Linked DNA regions of Homo sapiens: all the other regions are linked to region 3. Evidence: promoter capture Hi-C in 16 types of primary human blood cells and fetal thymus (Javierre and others, 2016). All regions are on one chromosome and are shown on one strand. The core of a region is centred on a gene start or on the middle of the fragment in contact, and the rest is flanking DNA. Distances in the headings are between cores, read along the strand shown.

What was found. Contacts are between HindIII fragments. The CHiCAGO score rates a contact against its expected background, and 5 or more counts as called.
Region 1: the fragment with the promoter of SEC22A here is called in contact with the fragment with the promoter of MRPL3 in region 3 in 1 of 17 cell types (naive CD8 T cells); the score reaches 5.8 in naive CD8 T cells.
Region 2: the fragment with the promoter of MYLK-AS1 here is called in contact with the fragment with the promoter of MRPL3 in region 3 in 1 of 17 cell types (activated CD4 T cells); the score reaches 5.5 in activated CD4 T cells.
Region 4: a fragment that was not itself captured here is called in contact with the fragment with the promoter of MRPL3 in region 3 in 1 of 17 cell types (total B cells); the score reaches 7.9 in total B cells.
Region 5: a contact is called between a fragment that was not itself captured here and the fragment with the promoter of MRPL3 in region 3, in 1 of 17 cell types (non-activated CD4 T cells). The highest score is 5.3, in non-activated CD4 T cells.

The regions. Positions count from the first base shown.
Region 1 is chr3:123,200,575-123,203,591 of GRCh38, forward strand. It overlaps SEC22A (SEC22 homolog A, vesicle trafficking protein), which reads left to right and starts at 1,369. Exons shown (of 7, transcript NM_012430.5): 1 at 1,369-1,412. RefSeq lists enhancers at 926-1,075, 1,086-1,165, 1,406-1,455. The HindIII fragment of the contact is 4,922 bases long and covers 1-2,690 here.
Region 2 is chr3:123,583,958-123,586,837 of GRCh38, forward strand. It overlaps MYLK-AS1 (MYLK antisense RNA 1), which reads left to right and starts at 1,556. Exons shown (of 4, transcript NR_121654.1): 1 at 1,556-1,596; 2 at 1,690-1,844. HACD2 (3-hydroxyacyl-CoA dehydratase 2) reads right to left here and starts at 1,096. Exons shown (of 7, transcript NM_198402.5): 1 at 916-1,096. The coding sequence starts at 1,070. RefSeq lists silencers at 421-600, 611-1,220 and an enhancer at 1,281-1,580. The HindIII fragment of the contact is 6,053 bases long and covers 1-2,880 here.
Region 3 is chr3:131,501,721-131,504,949 of GRCh38, forward strand. It overlaps MRPL3 (mitochondrial ribosomal protein L3), which reads right to left and starts at 1,251. Exons shown (of 10, transcript NM_007208.4): 1 at 1,010-1,251. The coding sequence starts at 1,101. LOC105374114 (a long non-coding RNA gene) reads left to right here and starts at 879. Exons shown (of 3, transcript NR_189111.1): 1 at 879-984. RefSeq lists enhancers at 887-1,573, 1,080-1,149. The HindIII fragment of the contact is 1,488 bases long and covers 551-2,038 here.
Region 4 is chr3:126,469,975-126,473,173 of GRCh38, forward strand. ZXDC (ZXD family zinc finger C) reads right to left here. Exons shown (of 10, transcript NM_025112.5): 2 at 2,179-2,331; 3 at 1,999-2,077; 4 at 921-1,051. Among named protein-coding and RNA genes, the nearest start is that of ZXDC, 4.3 kb to the right of the region's middle. The HindIII fragment of the contact is 321 bases long and covers 1,383-1,703 here.
Region 5 is chr3:123,957,023-123,959,878 of GRCh38, forward strand. All of the region lies in intron 1 of CCDC14 (coiled-coil domain containing 14), which reads right to left. Among named protein-coding and RNA genes, the nearest start is that of CCDC14, 2.8 kb to the right of the region's middle. The HindIII fragment of the contact is 2,540 bases long and covers 56-2,595 here.

The sequences.
Region 1 (3,017 bases), core at 119-2,618, 8.3 Mb before region 3:
ATAGGCATTTCAAATTTAACATATTCCAAACCATTTGCTCCTCTTTCTGTGTTCCATGAGTCAGTAAATGGCTTCTTAATCCATCTAGTTACTTAAGGAGTCATCCTTAATATTCCTTTTTGTTGACCCTTCCCGGCAAACCAATCCGTTATGAAGTCCCTTGGATACCATTTCTAATTTATACATATCTTGAAATTATCTACCTCTTTCTGTCTCTAACTCCCATTACACTAGTTCAAGCCCCATCATTTCTGGCTTTGCCTGACGCAACTGCCTCCAAATGGCTTTCCAGCAGCCCTTCTTGCCCTTTTCCACACTATTCTCCACAAACAGCCTGAGTGATTCTTAAATATGCAAATAGGATCCTACTTAATAGTCTTTATTAGCTGCCCATTGACCTTGGGCTGAGATGAGACAAGGGCCAGACCATGCTGACTCTTATTGGCCACATTACAGATTTCAGGCTGTATTTTGGAAGATATCTTAAGGTCAACGGGCAAAGTTTCTCCTTGCTCCCTACACTCCATCCACACTGACTCCCTTTTAGTTCCTAGAGCACAAGAAGTTCTTTCATGCCCCGACAACCTCACACAATATTTCCTTGGCGGGGAACATTCTCTAAGGCTCTTCAATATGCCTGCCGCTTAAAAGGCACTTATTCAGAAGTCTTTTCCCTGATAGTCCAAAATTAATTGATCATTGCACCCACTAATTTTCCCTCCCAATACTGACAATTTGTAGTTCTGTAACTATTTATGCTTTAATATCTCTTGCTCCAATTACTCCTTAAATTCCATCAAGTGTTATGTCCACTCCTGTAACCCCGTGCTTAACACGGTGCTTGGCACATGGTAAACAGTCAGGAAATGCCTGTTTAATAATGCATGACCGATGCGAAGGCTGGAAGGGGTCGCAGGGTCAGCATCTGGCACTTCTCTGCCATGGTTAGTTTCCTTCTTGTGTGTGGGAATAGACGGGGCCAGGTCTTCTCCTTGCTCACCCAGAGGGGGCTTTTCTCCCTGTCCCCTTTATAAGTGTCTGCTGTAGGGCCGCGTGTGAGAGACAAAATGCCTGCAGAAACAGGGCGGCGAGCGGAAGAGATTGGCCCTATTTCTGAAGTCAACGTAGTTCTGTCATCAGAGGATGCTGTACTTTTCTGGCGCAGGTGCGAGAGAAGCTGCCAATCTCTCCTGGAGCGGGTGGGACTAAGGAGGGCCCCGGGAGCTGGGGGGTTGTTGTGTCCTTCCTGCAGAACCCGATTGGCCTGGGTGAGCTGAGGGAACGGGGGCGTGGTTTGATTCCGCGGGCGCGAGCCACGTTGGACGCGCCGCAGCGTCGCCGAAAGGTCCCTCCCAGGCCCCACAATGCACTTCGGGGCGCGTCACTCGGAGCGGCGGGTCCCGTCTCGACAGGTACTCCCCGGCCCCTCCCAGTCCTCTTCTTCCTTTCTTAGGGGTCGTTCGAATCCCTGCCGGCCTCTCCCCTCCCGCTCCCTGCCTCTCGCCACAGCCTCGGCCTTCGCCCTCGGGATTGAAGACCTACCCCACGGGCAGGAGCCAAGTCCGTGCCTTTGGGATGGGAGTCGGGGCCGCGGAGCTCTGGAGGGACGGGCAAGCGGGGACCCCGTCCCCTTCGACTTGAGGGTTCTCTGGGGCCAGGCGGGCGGCGGTTGCGCCTCGTCTGAGCCGCCTCGGGTGTTGGGCAGCCAGGAAAGGAGTGTTTGAAGGGGAGGGACAGTCGCACTTGGCTGTCAGCATGGTGGTGGGGATTCCCTGGCGCCCAGGTGTCAGAAACACGGTGATCTACCTGTGTAGGTGGCCCATGAGAGCTTGAGGTGGCATTTCCTATTTCTTTTAGGCAGAATGGGACTTGAACCAGTGTCTTACTTTACGTTTTGTGGGGATGGAGTGAGCCCTGAGCCCAGATATTTGCCCGCGTTGGCTCACGGAAATCTCTTGAGACCCTGTCTCAAGAGTCACTTTGGGAACGATGTGGCAGAAGGGAGACCTGAGCAATTGGCTCGGCAAGTGGAGGAGGCTTCCAAAAGAAAAGGACAAGCCCCAGCTGGCTTGAATCTCTCTGCCAGTGAAGACAGCTTAAGATAATTTTTCCCTGCTGCTTAGTTTCCTGGATCATCCACCTGGGGCAGGGGGCGAGCTTGAGAACCAGTCCCTCCTATGCCTATTCAGCCAAGGCAAAGCCTAGCCCAGAGCAAAAGTATCAGCCACCAGACTGGAGATGTTGGGATCTTCAGTCAGGGGAACAGCCACTTTTCAAACTCTGAATCACTTTCCATGTTACTGATATTTGCTTACATGCTAAGATTGTAAGGAATCAGGCAATGCCTTAAACGGTACCTACAATTTCTGATATATTAAGGTTCATTCAGTATTTGACTCTGACACCTGTGACCATATCCTAAAGTAATGGGACATTCGGGTATTTCCTATGTTGAAAACCATCACATCTGTTTAGTGCCTTTTTTTTTTTTTTTTTTTTTTTTTTTTTTTTTTGCGTGCAACTGGTTAAAATCGAAGTATATCTTATGTTGGTATATGAAAGAGGCCTAGGTCTTATCACAGGGGTGCCTGTGACCTTCCTTGAGTGTCTCACAGAGTTGTTAGAATTGGGCCTGAGTTTAAATCCCTACTTTGTCACCTACTCGTTTAGGGATTAAAAAAAATTCCTCAAGCTTTCTGGGCTTGAATTTCCTCAAAGGTAAAATGGAACTAATAATACCTATCTCACAGGTTTTTGGAACGCTTAAATGAGGTAATGTGTATAAAGTGCGTGGTCCATGGAGAGTAATCAATAAATAATACAGCAAATATTTAATGTAGTGCTTTTAGCATGTTACAAGGCAATGTTTCAGGCACTTTACATGATCCTATGAGATAGATACTATTGTCATCTTTAAAACAAGCCTATGAGATAGATGCTATTAGTAGCCACAATATATAGATGTGGAAATTGAGATATAGAAAGGCAAAGCTTGTCCAAATTTACATGGCTGGTAG
Region 2 (2,880 bases), core at 306-2,805, 7.9 Mb before region 3:
CATAATAAAATGTTAGGACTTCTTAAAAAATTACAAATGAAGATAACTTAAAAATATATAACTGTCTGATGCTGTGATCCTCCTCACCAAAATGACAAGATAAAGAATTGCAGAGCTGAAGGAACCTTCATCACCCAGACCAACCCTTTAGTTTTACAAATGAAAAAACGGAGGCTAGAGAAATAAGATGATTTATCCAAAGTCACACAGCTAGTTAGTGGCAGAGCTTGAACTAAAAACCCGCCGGGATAAGGGATGCACTGAAATGAAAGAGACAGAAGATGGGTAAAACCGTTTCGAGGGTCCATTCTCCCCCTTTCCAGTAACTCTGCCTTCTACTCCCCAGTTTCTTCCCCACCCCAACCCATCCTAAAAGTCTAAACTCATCTAAAGCCTAGCTCTGCTCATGTCGCTGGCCAAAAACTTTGAACGCTTTCCCAATACCTTTCAGATTAAAGCGCAGCCCAGATTTTGAAAACAGCCGCCCAAATGAATGGTCACTCTGCAGCCACAGCTCCTCCACTCCCCATGCTGGCGCCGTTCAACATCCGAATCTGGCCGCCCAGGACGGGCTCCGCGCCGCAGGTAGTCCGGCCGCTGCCCCCGGCCCCGCACCTGTGGCCAGCCCCACCTTTCCTCCCGCGGCCCTCGCGAGCCAGCGCCCGGCAGCCGTCCCCGCGCCCCAGTGCCTGGGAACTTGGCTCGACCCCCAGCGCAGGAGGGAGCTCGCGGGCAGCCACCGGGGCCGATTCAGCGCTCGGCCGCCCTCAGCGCCCAGGTACCGGGTCCCGGGCACCCCCCGCCGGGAATGCACTGCCTGCGGCGGGCCGCGCCGATCCTATCCGCCCCGCCGCTGGCCGCAGGGCTCCCTCCCCGGCCGCGCTGGCTCCCCGCCTCCCCGAGCCCCAGCCTCACCCGGCTGTCATCACCACATTGTAGATGACCAGGTACGCCGTGGCCAGGGGCCCCGGGCCCTTCTTCTTCCGCGTGCCGCTGGCGTCCCCGGCCCCGGCCCTGCCACCGCCGCCCCCATTCCCCTTCGCTGCTGCAGTCGCCGCCACTGCCGCCATGTCAAGTGCCCGAAGCCCGCTCTCCTAGCGCGAGCGGCTCGGGCCGGACTACGCGAGGAGAGGGGGCGGAGGAAGGGACGAGGGGCAGGCGGGGCCAGGGCCGCGGGGCGGAGCCGGGACAGGGTCCACGGCAGCCGCCATCTTGGCTGAGGGCAAAGACGCTCCTGGCGCTCCCGTCTTTCGGCTTGCCTCAGTTGCCACTGCCATCTTGGATCAGGGTAATTCCCGCCTCTTGGGCGCTCCCGGTTACAACCTCGGCGCCATCTTGGATTAGTTCAATGTAGCCACCCTCTCCAGGCCCGCTGCTTCTGCCAGCTGGATGTTGCGTCGTCCCTCGCTATTCGCCCTCCTATAATCACTGCTTCCATGTTGAATCAAAACAATTATGCTTTCGTTCTCCCTTCTTCAATTGCCCTATCTTCACACCTGAACACTATTGCTCCGGTATCCTGCCATTTTGGATCAGGGCGGTTGACGGTGGATTCACTTCCCATCAGCCCTTGAGGCTGCAGGGACCAGCCCTTTGGTAGGTGCGCTTTGCTTCCTAACCCGTTGCCGGGTTGGAGATTCCACCTCCGAAGTTTTCTTTCTGACTTTTGATTTTACATTCCTAGTACAGTGGAGAAGCCCAGGCGGCCTAGAATCCAGTGTCGTCCGTGAGTGCTTGGCTGGTGTTCAAGTGCATCTTCCAGCCTGAGACCGCGTGGACTCGCTCATCGTGAGGGCGAGAGGAGGATAAGCCCATTGGGCTGTCGGCTGAGAGTGAGGTGCGGGGTAAGGGAGTAGATTTATAGCTATAGTGACTAAAAATAAAAGGATGTTGGCTTAGGTGGAAAACCTCTCTGCTTTGGGAAGCTGGAGCAGCTTGTGGGCATTGCTTCAACCAGCTGATCCCACTTTCCATTCATTGCTTTGTTTCAGGAGGTTCTTTATTTGTAAACGTCCCCTGCAATTTTTTACACACCCAAGCAGCTCCTTAAATGTATTACTGTATATGTGGTAGTATAAAATATTTATGGGTTCATTCCAGCAAGTGTTTATGGAGCGTCCACAAAGTTGCCCTGGAGTTCATGGCACTAAGTGAAAGAGACAAAGTCGTCAGTCTCCCAGGGATTATATAGAGCAGCGGCCCCCAACCTTTTGGTCAACAGGGACCGGTTTCGTGGTGGGGGGGTGGATGATGGTTTCAGGATGATTCAAAGGCATTACATTTATCATTAGATTCTCATAAGGAGCACACAACTTAGATCCCTCCAATGCGCAGTTCACAATAGGTTCCCCGCTCCTATGAGAATCTGATGCCACCGCTGATCTGAGGGAGGCGGAGCTCAGGAGGTAATGCTCCCTTGCTTGCTGCTCACCTCCTGCTGTGCCTCCTGGTTCCTAACAGGCCAGGGATTGGTTCTATCCGCAGCCTGGGGCTTAAGGACCCCTGAGGGAACCAGACGAAAATGCTCGTATTAGTTGGTGAAAAGTGGTATCAGGAAGTTATTACAATAATCCAGCCATGGTGATAGTGGTGTGGGCCAGAGTGGTGGAAATCGAGGTGATGAAAACAACAATGAATTCTGTGCGTATTTTAGAAGTAGAATTATAAGATTTGTGGATATGTTAGTTTTGGAGTGTGAGGTCAAAGGCGTTTTGAGCAACTTGTAAGAAACCATTTTTAAGGCGGAAGTCGGGAATTTTGTTTTTTATATGTTGAATTTGAAATCCTTATTAAACATCCAAGTGGAGAGGCTGGATAGACAATTAAATTTAGACCCTGAGGTTCGGGAAGGAAGTCCAATGGGCTAGAGATATAAATTTG
Region 3 (3,229 bases), core at 1-2,500:
AAAAGAAAAAATAAATAAAACCAAACCACAATTTAAAAACTTCCTCCACTTAATATAGAAAAGGGAAGTCACAAATTGGAAAGTGTAGTCAGGGCCTTGGGAAAGGGCTTGGATTCTGTATACCTTTTTTTCAGGTCTCCAACCTTTTCCTCACTCCCCACATTCCTTCGGATAAGGCTCACATTTAAACTGTTAGTCGTTACCCTGGAGAAAAAAATTCATCTTCTCCTCGCAGATAAACATATTCCCCAAAAAACAGTCCTACCTATAGACATGAAAAGCCACTAACCCATTTGGAAGTGTACCTTAATAGTTTTACATTCAGTGGAGGTGGCAGAAGGTGGCATGTTGATCTTTGTCTAACAAGCTCACCTCCTCCCTGCAATGACATGGCCTAGGTTCAGAGAAGTGAAGAAACTGGGTGTGCAAAGTTAAAAGATCCACAAAAGGCATGACCTCTGAACAGGTGAACATACCAAGAAAGACCTTAGTGGGCGGAGGTCAGGAAGAAGGGGTGTAATTCTTGCATGGAGGGTCAGAACAGAAGTAAAGCTTTCTGCAGTCTACTCTCCTTTTGTAGTCAGATAAATTCAGGCTAGATTCCTAATTTTCCACTTATTAGTTGAGTGACTTTGGGCAAATTAACTCACCTCCCTAACCTTCAGTTTTATCTGTAAACCTTATGATAGCAGTTTGCTCCCGTGAGGCTACATAAGGCACCTAATACACTTAGCAGAGCGCTTAGTACCTGGCAAACGCTCACTAATTGTAAGATATGATTGCTGTTAATAGCGTTCGCTGCTAGTGGCTGGCTCATAAGCGTTTTTTAAAAATCACCACTTCAATCCCCTTAGAACGTGCTTCCTTAGGTTAACGGCCCTTATTCTTCTGTGTCCCACGTCTCAACAGAGCCCCTTCCTCCTCCACCCAGGGGAGGCCCAACTGCACCAGGCCATTCCACTGCTTCAGGACGCAACTGTGCAGGTAGGACACCCTCACACCTTCCTACCTGTTCCCCGGGCCCAGGGCAGCACCCAGGCCGTCCCCGAGTCGACCCAGCACCTGGGCGCCGACCTGCGTCAGCAGCCTCCAACCCGGCATGGATTAGCCCGGGAAGACTCGACTCACGACTTCCGGGCGCCCTGCCGCTCTGCTTTCAGGGAGTCCCCACGCCACCGCCACGTGGACGCAGTAGCCGTGGGGAAGTTTTCGCAATGGCCGCCGGAACGGTCGCCGGCCGATGCTCTCTGCGACGGAAAGAAAGCCGCCGGACCCACTTCCGGTGCGTTTTACAATGAACTCCGGGCACTCGAGTCGCTCCCCGGAAACTATAGTTCTGCTTCCACCGTTGTCCTACTTTGGATGTGAGTTGGAGTAGGTAGGGGTGGGAAGGGACTGACTCGCCTCTCCAGGGGTAAAATAAAAGGGATGTTCAGAGTTTAAACTTTAGAAGAATAAGGACAGACTTCCTGAGGACGCTAAGGAAAATGAAGACACTTCTAAATAGTGCCCGTTGTGAGGCAATGCATTATGCTAAGCAGCGCTTCATAATCCTATATTTGTTAATCATAAAAAACGGTCCTGAAAGGAAGTATTTATTTTTCTATTATAAATGAGGAAACTGACTCAGAATTTAGGTGCTGGTCCAAAACAACACATCTGGCAGAGGAGCAGAGTTGGCACTGAAACAGGGTTGGCATGTGTTATCAATAGACTACACCCATAGAAATGATGTATGCCTTCTAGGGCTGGATCATAAAACATATTGTTACTTCAGTTTTTGTCTCTTGGATTGCTCCCTGTGGAGAAAGCTAGCCTTCATTTCCTGCAGACACTCAAACAGCTCTGCAGGGAGGAACATATAAAGAGGAATCAACTAGCCAGTCATGACTGAGCCACCTAGGAAGTGGATCCACCAGTCCTCGGCTGCAACTCATGGAGACGTTAAGCCTGAATCTCCCAGCCAGGCCGCTCATGAATTACTGACTAGGAGAAATTGCCAGAGAAAATAAATGATTACCGTTTTTTTGAGTCATTAAGCTTTAGGGTAATTTGTTATGCAATAATAGATAGCTAATACACCTGCACAAAAAATCCCCTGTCTTGGGTTCCAGATCTAGCCTAATAACCATGTATGTGACTAGGACATTTATTCTTCTACTAATTCCCTTATTTGTCAGATTACTGTTTGTAGAAATTTGGAAATAAGAACTTTAAAGTGTAGCTATTTCAACCTTCTCTTTTTACTAGAGATCTGGCTATCTTGGTTTAACAGGTCCAGACAATGGTCAATTCCTGGCCATTACTTGGACTTTAGTGGGCTAAAAAATCTTTGCTTTGCTTGTCCATTCATTCCACTCATTGCTGTTGCAGTTACCTTAGACACTTTTCAATAATACTTTGGACCTTGAAGGAAAAACTACATCTCTTCATTCTAGCCATGCTGCCTGGCTTCCCAGATACTTAAGGATGGCTCTTCATTGAACAAACATGTTTTGAGGTGTGCTACATGCAAGAAGTTGAGAATAAGAAGATTTCTGTACTACTGCCAATAACTAACATTTCTTATCCATATAGTGTGCTAGAGTATGTGCTCAGCATTGTGGAAGCCCATAAGCCAAGGCTACTAGAAGAAAACGTGAACTCATACAAAGTCAAGTTTAATTAGCTTGATGCAGCAAAAGACAGCATATGTCTGAGGATGTTTCCAAAAGAGTGACCTGGGAGGGGCTTGAAATGAAATTTGGACTTAAGGCTGAGTGATTTTAAAGTGGCATCAGAGAAGCAGGAACTTGTTTTAGAATGGGTGCTGTCAAGAAGAAAGGACAGTTCAGCAATTGGATATCTTGATAGTCTTTGTTCTAGAGACAGGAAGAACAGAGAGGAAGTGGGCATGATGTTCATAAGAAAGCAGGAATCACTCAGAATAAGGAACTGTTAGTCATTTTGCTGCAGTGGTGTGGCCTACAGTACGGTCTGTAAGAAATATTGTAATGATGGGCTGGGCGTGGTGGCTCAGCACTTTGGGATGCCAAGGCGGGTGGATCACGAGGTCAGGAGATTGAGACCATCCTGGCTGACATGGTGAAACCCCTTCTCTACTAAAAATACAAAAAAAAATTAGCCGGGCGTAGTGGCGGGTGCCTGTAGTCCCAGCTACTCAGGAGGCTGAGGCAGGAGAATGGTGTGAACCTGGGAGGCGCAGCTTGCAGTGAGCGAGATTGAGCCA
Region 4 (3,199 bases), core at 293-2,792, 5.0 Mb before region 3:
GCCACCACTTTAGGGAGCGGTAGAGCCAGACTTTGAATCCATGACCACCCGACGTGTCCTGGCTCACTGCCTCCCAGTGCACCTGCAGAACTAGAGTAGGGCCAGCACGCACAAGTCACGCACAGGTCACGCAGCCAATTTCTGGCAAATGAACTGAGCCTTCAGTGTTTTAAAGGAAAAAACCACTCTACTATACCTTTTAAAAAGTCAGGTTGGGCGTGGTGGCTCACACCTGTAATCCCAGCACTTTGGGAGGCCAAAGTGGGTGGATCACTTGACGTCAGGAGTTTGAGACCATCCTGGCCAACATGGTGAAACCCTGTCTCTACTAAAAGCATAAAAATCAGCCAAGCGTGGTGGCATACGCCTGTAGTCCCAGCTACTCAGAAGGCTGAGGCATAAGAATCACTTAAACCTGGGAGGCAGAGGTTGCAATGAGCCAAGATCACACCATTGCATCCAGCCTGGGTGACAGAGCAAGACTGTCTCAAAAATTAAACAAAAAAAGAAAAAGTCAGTCTAGCTTTACTGCTCTCCAATTACAAAATGATTGGAGTGACAATTCAAACGTGATCTCAAAAGTACCTACCATTTACTGAGTCCGAGCTCCATGCCAGATGGATAAACAGGCATTTTCCACATTTCACCTAATCCTCACGACCACCAAATTAAACAGGTAACTTAACTAGAGCCACAGATCTAATGAGGATCAGGGCCATGAGTCAAACTGCGTCTGATTCTCAAGTCACTGCTCCCAAAATAGTACAATTAACTCAATGAGGTAAGTAAACATAATGCTGCAACTTATATTGAGTCAGTCTTTAAGCAGCTAACATTTACCTTTAAACAACGGAAACTTAACAGGATAAATGTTGGCATTGCACTTAGTTTACTGCTCAAAGCAATGTTTTAAAATCTACCTTCCACAGGACACTCGAACGGCTTTGTGCCTAGGTGGGTTATGCTGTGGCCTTTCAGATGCTCTGCTCTGGTGAATGATTTCCCACAGCCCTCGACAGGGCAGGTAAACCTCCGGTCATCGTCATGTTTCCTGCCAGACAGAAAAATAAAGGAGCTGTGATTCCTCACACAACTCACCATAATTCTTTAAAATTCTACAAAACATACCAAAACACAAACTTTGCATTTACAAAAATGATCAGTACATTTCGGAAAATCTTAATTCTGTCTTTAATCCATGTGAGCAGATTTGCAATTTAGCTACCCCATAAAAATTCTACTTTAATGACTAAGCTGACCCCAGAGTCACACATCAAACAATTAATGCTACTTCAATCTAATATAAGCTAATCTAAGAACAGTGGAGTCCCAAATGTATTGATGAAGGTGTTTCTATTGTTTAGAAACCCCAATGATCAACAAGCTTTCCGAGCGACAGACGGTCGTGAGAAATGTGCACAGAGCATCAGCTGCAATGCCAAAAGGACTCTCTTAAGCCAACTTGTAAAGACTGTGTCTTTTCCTAAGTGACATTTTTATATTAAATCCTCAGAGCCCAGCTGTGCAAGTACAGAAAAACCACTGAATCTCTCCGAGTCTCACTGTAAAACAGGGAGAATAAGAACATTAGCTTTGAGGTTGTTGGGAAGGTAGAAGACACACATGTAAAGTGCTGAGTGTCACCTGGACACAGTCTCCAGGGTTGTCATTACCACCATGAAAACTTGTAATTACATGAAGAAAGCTTATTCTACAATGTTAAGTTAAAAAAAAAACCTGGAATTGTTTTTTTTTTAAGAACAGAGTATGCCAATTTAGCTTTTTTTAAAAAAAGTATACACAGAAAAAACTGACTTCAGGTGATGAGATTCTGAGCAATTTTCTTTTTACAGTTTTCTGAATTTTCCAAATCATCAACACTGAGCTCCTTTTTTAACAACTTAAAAAATGTCTACAGATATTTCATTCATTGGTTTCTGCTGCTGACAAACCACTCATTTTCAAACCTGATAATGCAAACCAAAATGTAAGGATTACCTTCTGTGCCTTAGAAGTTTGGACATGCTGGTGAAGGTCCAGCCACAGCTGTCAGAGTCACAAATAAATGGTCTTTCACCTTATAAAAGAAAAAATTATACAGCATAAAATTTACAACTCCAACAGCTACGATGAAGACAAATCTTGGGTCCAAATGCTGTGCGTTCCCTAGCTCATTACCTGTATGGCTCCGCAGGTGAATTTTCAGCCGACAGGCTTTATCATACTGCTTGCTGCACCCAGGAAAGGAGCAGGAAAAGAGCTCTTGTTCCCTGAAGTGGGCTCGGTTATGGGAAAACAGGGCACTCACTGTGATAAATGTCTTCTCACAGCCTGAACAAGGAAAACACAAACCCTGCTCAAAGCGTGGCAAAAATTATACAACATAGCTAATGCTAGTCACACCCACCAGACCCTGTTCACACTGAAGCAGACAAGGGAAAACATGACTCAGAAGCACTCTCTAAAAAGGGAAGACCATTAATGCTTGGCTTTGTGATCACCACAGGAAGGCAGCTAATGGCAGCCAATAGGCACACGCTGGCCACCTGTTGCAACATGACTTGGAGATGGAGCAACCGATAAAGAGAAAGTCCTCCGTTCACAGCCATCTACTGGCCGGCTCCGGAGCACTGATCCTGCACACACACTGAGACCCAAGAACCCCATGAGAGAAATCAAATACTAAGGAACAAGATTTTGTCTGGTAGGGTTGATCTTTGAAAGGCTACAAATCATCCTACTAGCCAGGATTTTTCACCCCTTGGGGGTGATGCTGCATCCTCTACATATCCAAATTTCCTCCCTGACACCCTCCAACTGCCAGCCCTGTCCCTTGCTGTTTGGATTCTTTTTCCTTTCGCAATTTCCTTAGGTTCCCTGCTTTGTAATCTTCACCTCAATCCTAACCCCTGGCCAAAGCAGCTAAGCCTCAACAATTCCACAGCAATACTTCTCCTCCGACAGAAACATTCAGGGCTCCAACAGGGTGGAAAACATGAGGCTGCAGGATGTTTAACAGGAGTCTTTGCTGCAGCTCCTCTTGGAGCCTTTAACGAGATACTATCATGCCTATGAACTGCCACACAGATGTACATGGCATAGCACTGCCCAAAAGTATCAGCCCAAGGAACCCTACTTTCCCCAGCAACATCTAACTCAGAAATGCTGATCTTTGGCCTCAATCTGGTCCCAAAATACC
Region 5 (2,856 bases), core at 76-2,575, 7.5 Mb before region 3:
AATACAATATTTGTTCTTTTGTGACTGGCTTATTTCACTTAGCATAATGTCTTCAAGCTTCATCTATATTGTAGCATGTGTCAAAATTTTTCTTCCTTTTTGAGGTCAAATATATTCCATTATATGTATGTACCACATTATTCACTGTTTTAATTAATGTGATATATCCTAAAAATACACAATTATAATTTAATTCATATATTAAATTTCTTTTATGTAAAACGTCAAGCAAACTACACATATATTTGTTCCTTAAGTCTATTTAAGGTGAAAAGGAAATTGAGATACTATTTTAAACCAGAAGTAACTACTACACTAAGTTCAGACTATATTAATCCCAAAATATGTTCTATAGTCCCAAATTCTTTGAAACATGCAAGTTAATTCATGATATAGGACAGAGTTCTTAACTCTGGTTCCTTTTATGTACATTCTTTAGAATGCCTGATTAGACCAGGAAGTGAGAACTCTACCCTGTCTCTTTATCTACATCTCACTGTCTTAATTTTTCTTTTTAAATTCATATACCACTGTTGTTTTCTTAAACTTTTTTGTTTTAAAAGTGACAATAATGGACAACCTTTTGTGTAGAAAAACAGGAAAAAATAAGCATTTGCTTTTACATGCATCCAGTATCTTGGGAGTTATGCCAGAAACAGTTAATCATGGTTGCCTCTGGGGAGGGAAACAGAGTATCTGGGGGACAGAGCGAGAAGGGACACTTTCCATGGTATACTATTTTATATCTTAATAATTTTATATCAGATAAATATAATCTTTATTCAAAATAATTTTAAATAGACATGAGAAAGTCCCTGATTCCCCCCCTAGTTCCACCCTCCAGATGTAGTCACTGTTGGCAGTTTTATTTATAATTTCTCTTCACATATTTAATTTCATCTCCAGATAGCTTTGAGCTGTAACTACCAAACTTTCTAAAGTTATACGGCATTCTATTATATGCTTGAATATGTGCTCCATCCTTCTAAGAATGTCACTGAGAATACATTTTTTAAAAACTGGGTTGGTAAGAGTTATACGTCTTGAGATAACTTGGATTATGATGGAGGGTCATGAAGCCAGCAGTGAGAACCAACAATGTAGGAAATAAGACCTTGTATAACATCACACCACTGGTCTCTGCATCACACTCTCAGGGTCCTTCCCTTTGGTATATTTATGTCGATGTCTTGGCTGGAATCATAATAAAAAATCCAAGCCATGACACTATAATACTATACCCTGGATCGAGTCCAAAAACAACTACCACAATTAAAGTACACTGTCTGAGGTATATGTCTGGCATAACTGTAAGATTACATATGGTGTTTCTCCAAAAAATATACACAAGGCTATATTATAGAAAATCTGGTAAAGAAAACTACCCATGATAAAAGCACCTTGAAACAGTAACTGTCATATTGGAACAATTCCTTTCAATTTTTTTTTGTAGTTTCTACTATGAAATAATAGTACAAAGATGCCCTATATATGCTTCACTCAGATTCTGTGAACCTTGACATTTTCCATATTCTCTCTCAATATATATACACAGCAGTACTTTTTGCCTGAACCATTAGAGTTAAGTTTGCAGATACAATACTCCTTTACTCCTAAATGTTTCCTAAAAACAAGGCCATTCTCTAACATAACCACAGTATAATTATCAAAACCAGGAAATTAACATTGATACAGAATTACAATCTAATATTCAGACCTTATTCACATGTTGCCAATTATCCCAATACTGTTCTTTACAAAAAAAAACCCAAAAAACAAAAATCCCTCTGGTTCACGCCCAATCCATGCTCACATTCTGTTTCTATGAGTTTTAACTATTTAGGTACTTTATGTAAGTAAAATCATGCAGTATTTGTCCTTCTGTGACTAGCTTATTTCACTTAGCATAATGTCTTCAAGTTTTGTCTCTGTTGTTGCATATGACAGCTATTTCTTTCTTTTTAAAGGTTGAATAATAGTCCATTGTATGTATATACCATATTTTCTTTATCTGTTCATCTGCAGATAGAATTTGGGTTGTTCCCACATTTGGCTATTGTGAATAGTGCTGCAATGAACACAAGAGTGCAAATATCTCTTCTATATCCTGATTTCAATTCTTTTGGATAAATTCCCAGAAGTAGAATTGCTGGGTGATATAGTTCTATATTTAATTTGGTGAGGAATCTCCATATTGTTTTCCATAGCAGCTATACCATTTTACATTCCCACTGACAGTGTACAAGGGTTCCAATTCTTCCACATCCTTGCCAACACTTGTTTTCATTTTTTTAATGTCATCCTAACAGGGGTTAGGTGATAGCTCATTGTGGTTTTAATTTGCATTTCCTGGATTAGTGATGTTGAGCATCTTTTCATATACCTGCTGGCCATCTGTACATTTTCTTTGGAGAAATGTCTATTCAAATCCTTTTTTCGTTTTTTAACCAGGTTATGTGTTGTTCTGCTTTTGAGTTATAGAAATTCCTTATATGTATTTTGGATATTATTTATCAGATACATGGCTTGGAAATATTTTCTCCCATTCTGTAGATTGCCTTTTCACTCCATTAATCATTTCCTGTGCTGTGCAGAAGCTTTTTAGTTTGATGTGTCCATGCTCTTCTTATATTACCCCTGCTCAGCCCTGGAGTTGGTCATTTCTCCAAGAAGCCATGACTCCTTAGTGGACAGTGGTACGTGGAAACCAAGATCTAGGTACTAGATGTGTTCTTTGCTATTGGGGCCTCCAATCTTTTTTCATATGCATTTTTTACTTAGTCATAATACCTAGATATTTGCAATTTTAAATCCTGTGTTTTCTACTTTTAAATCTTTTTCATATTCATAAATTTT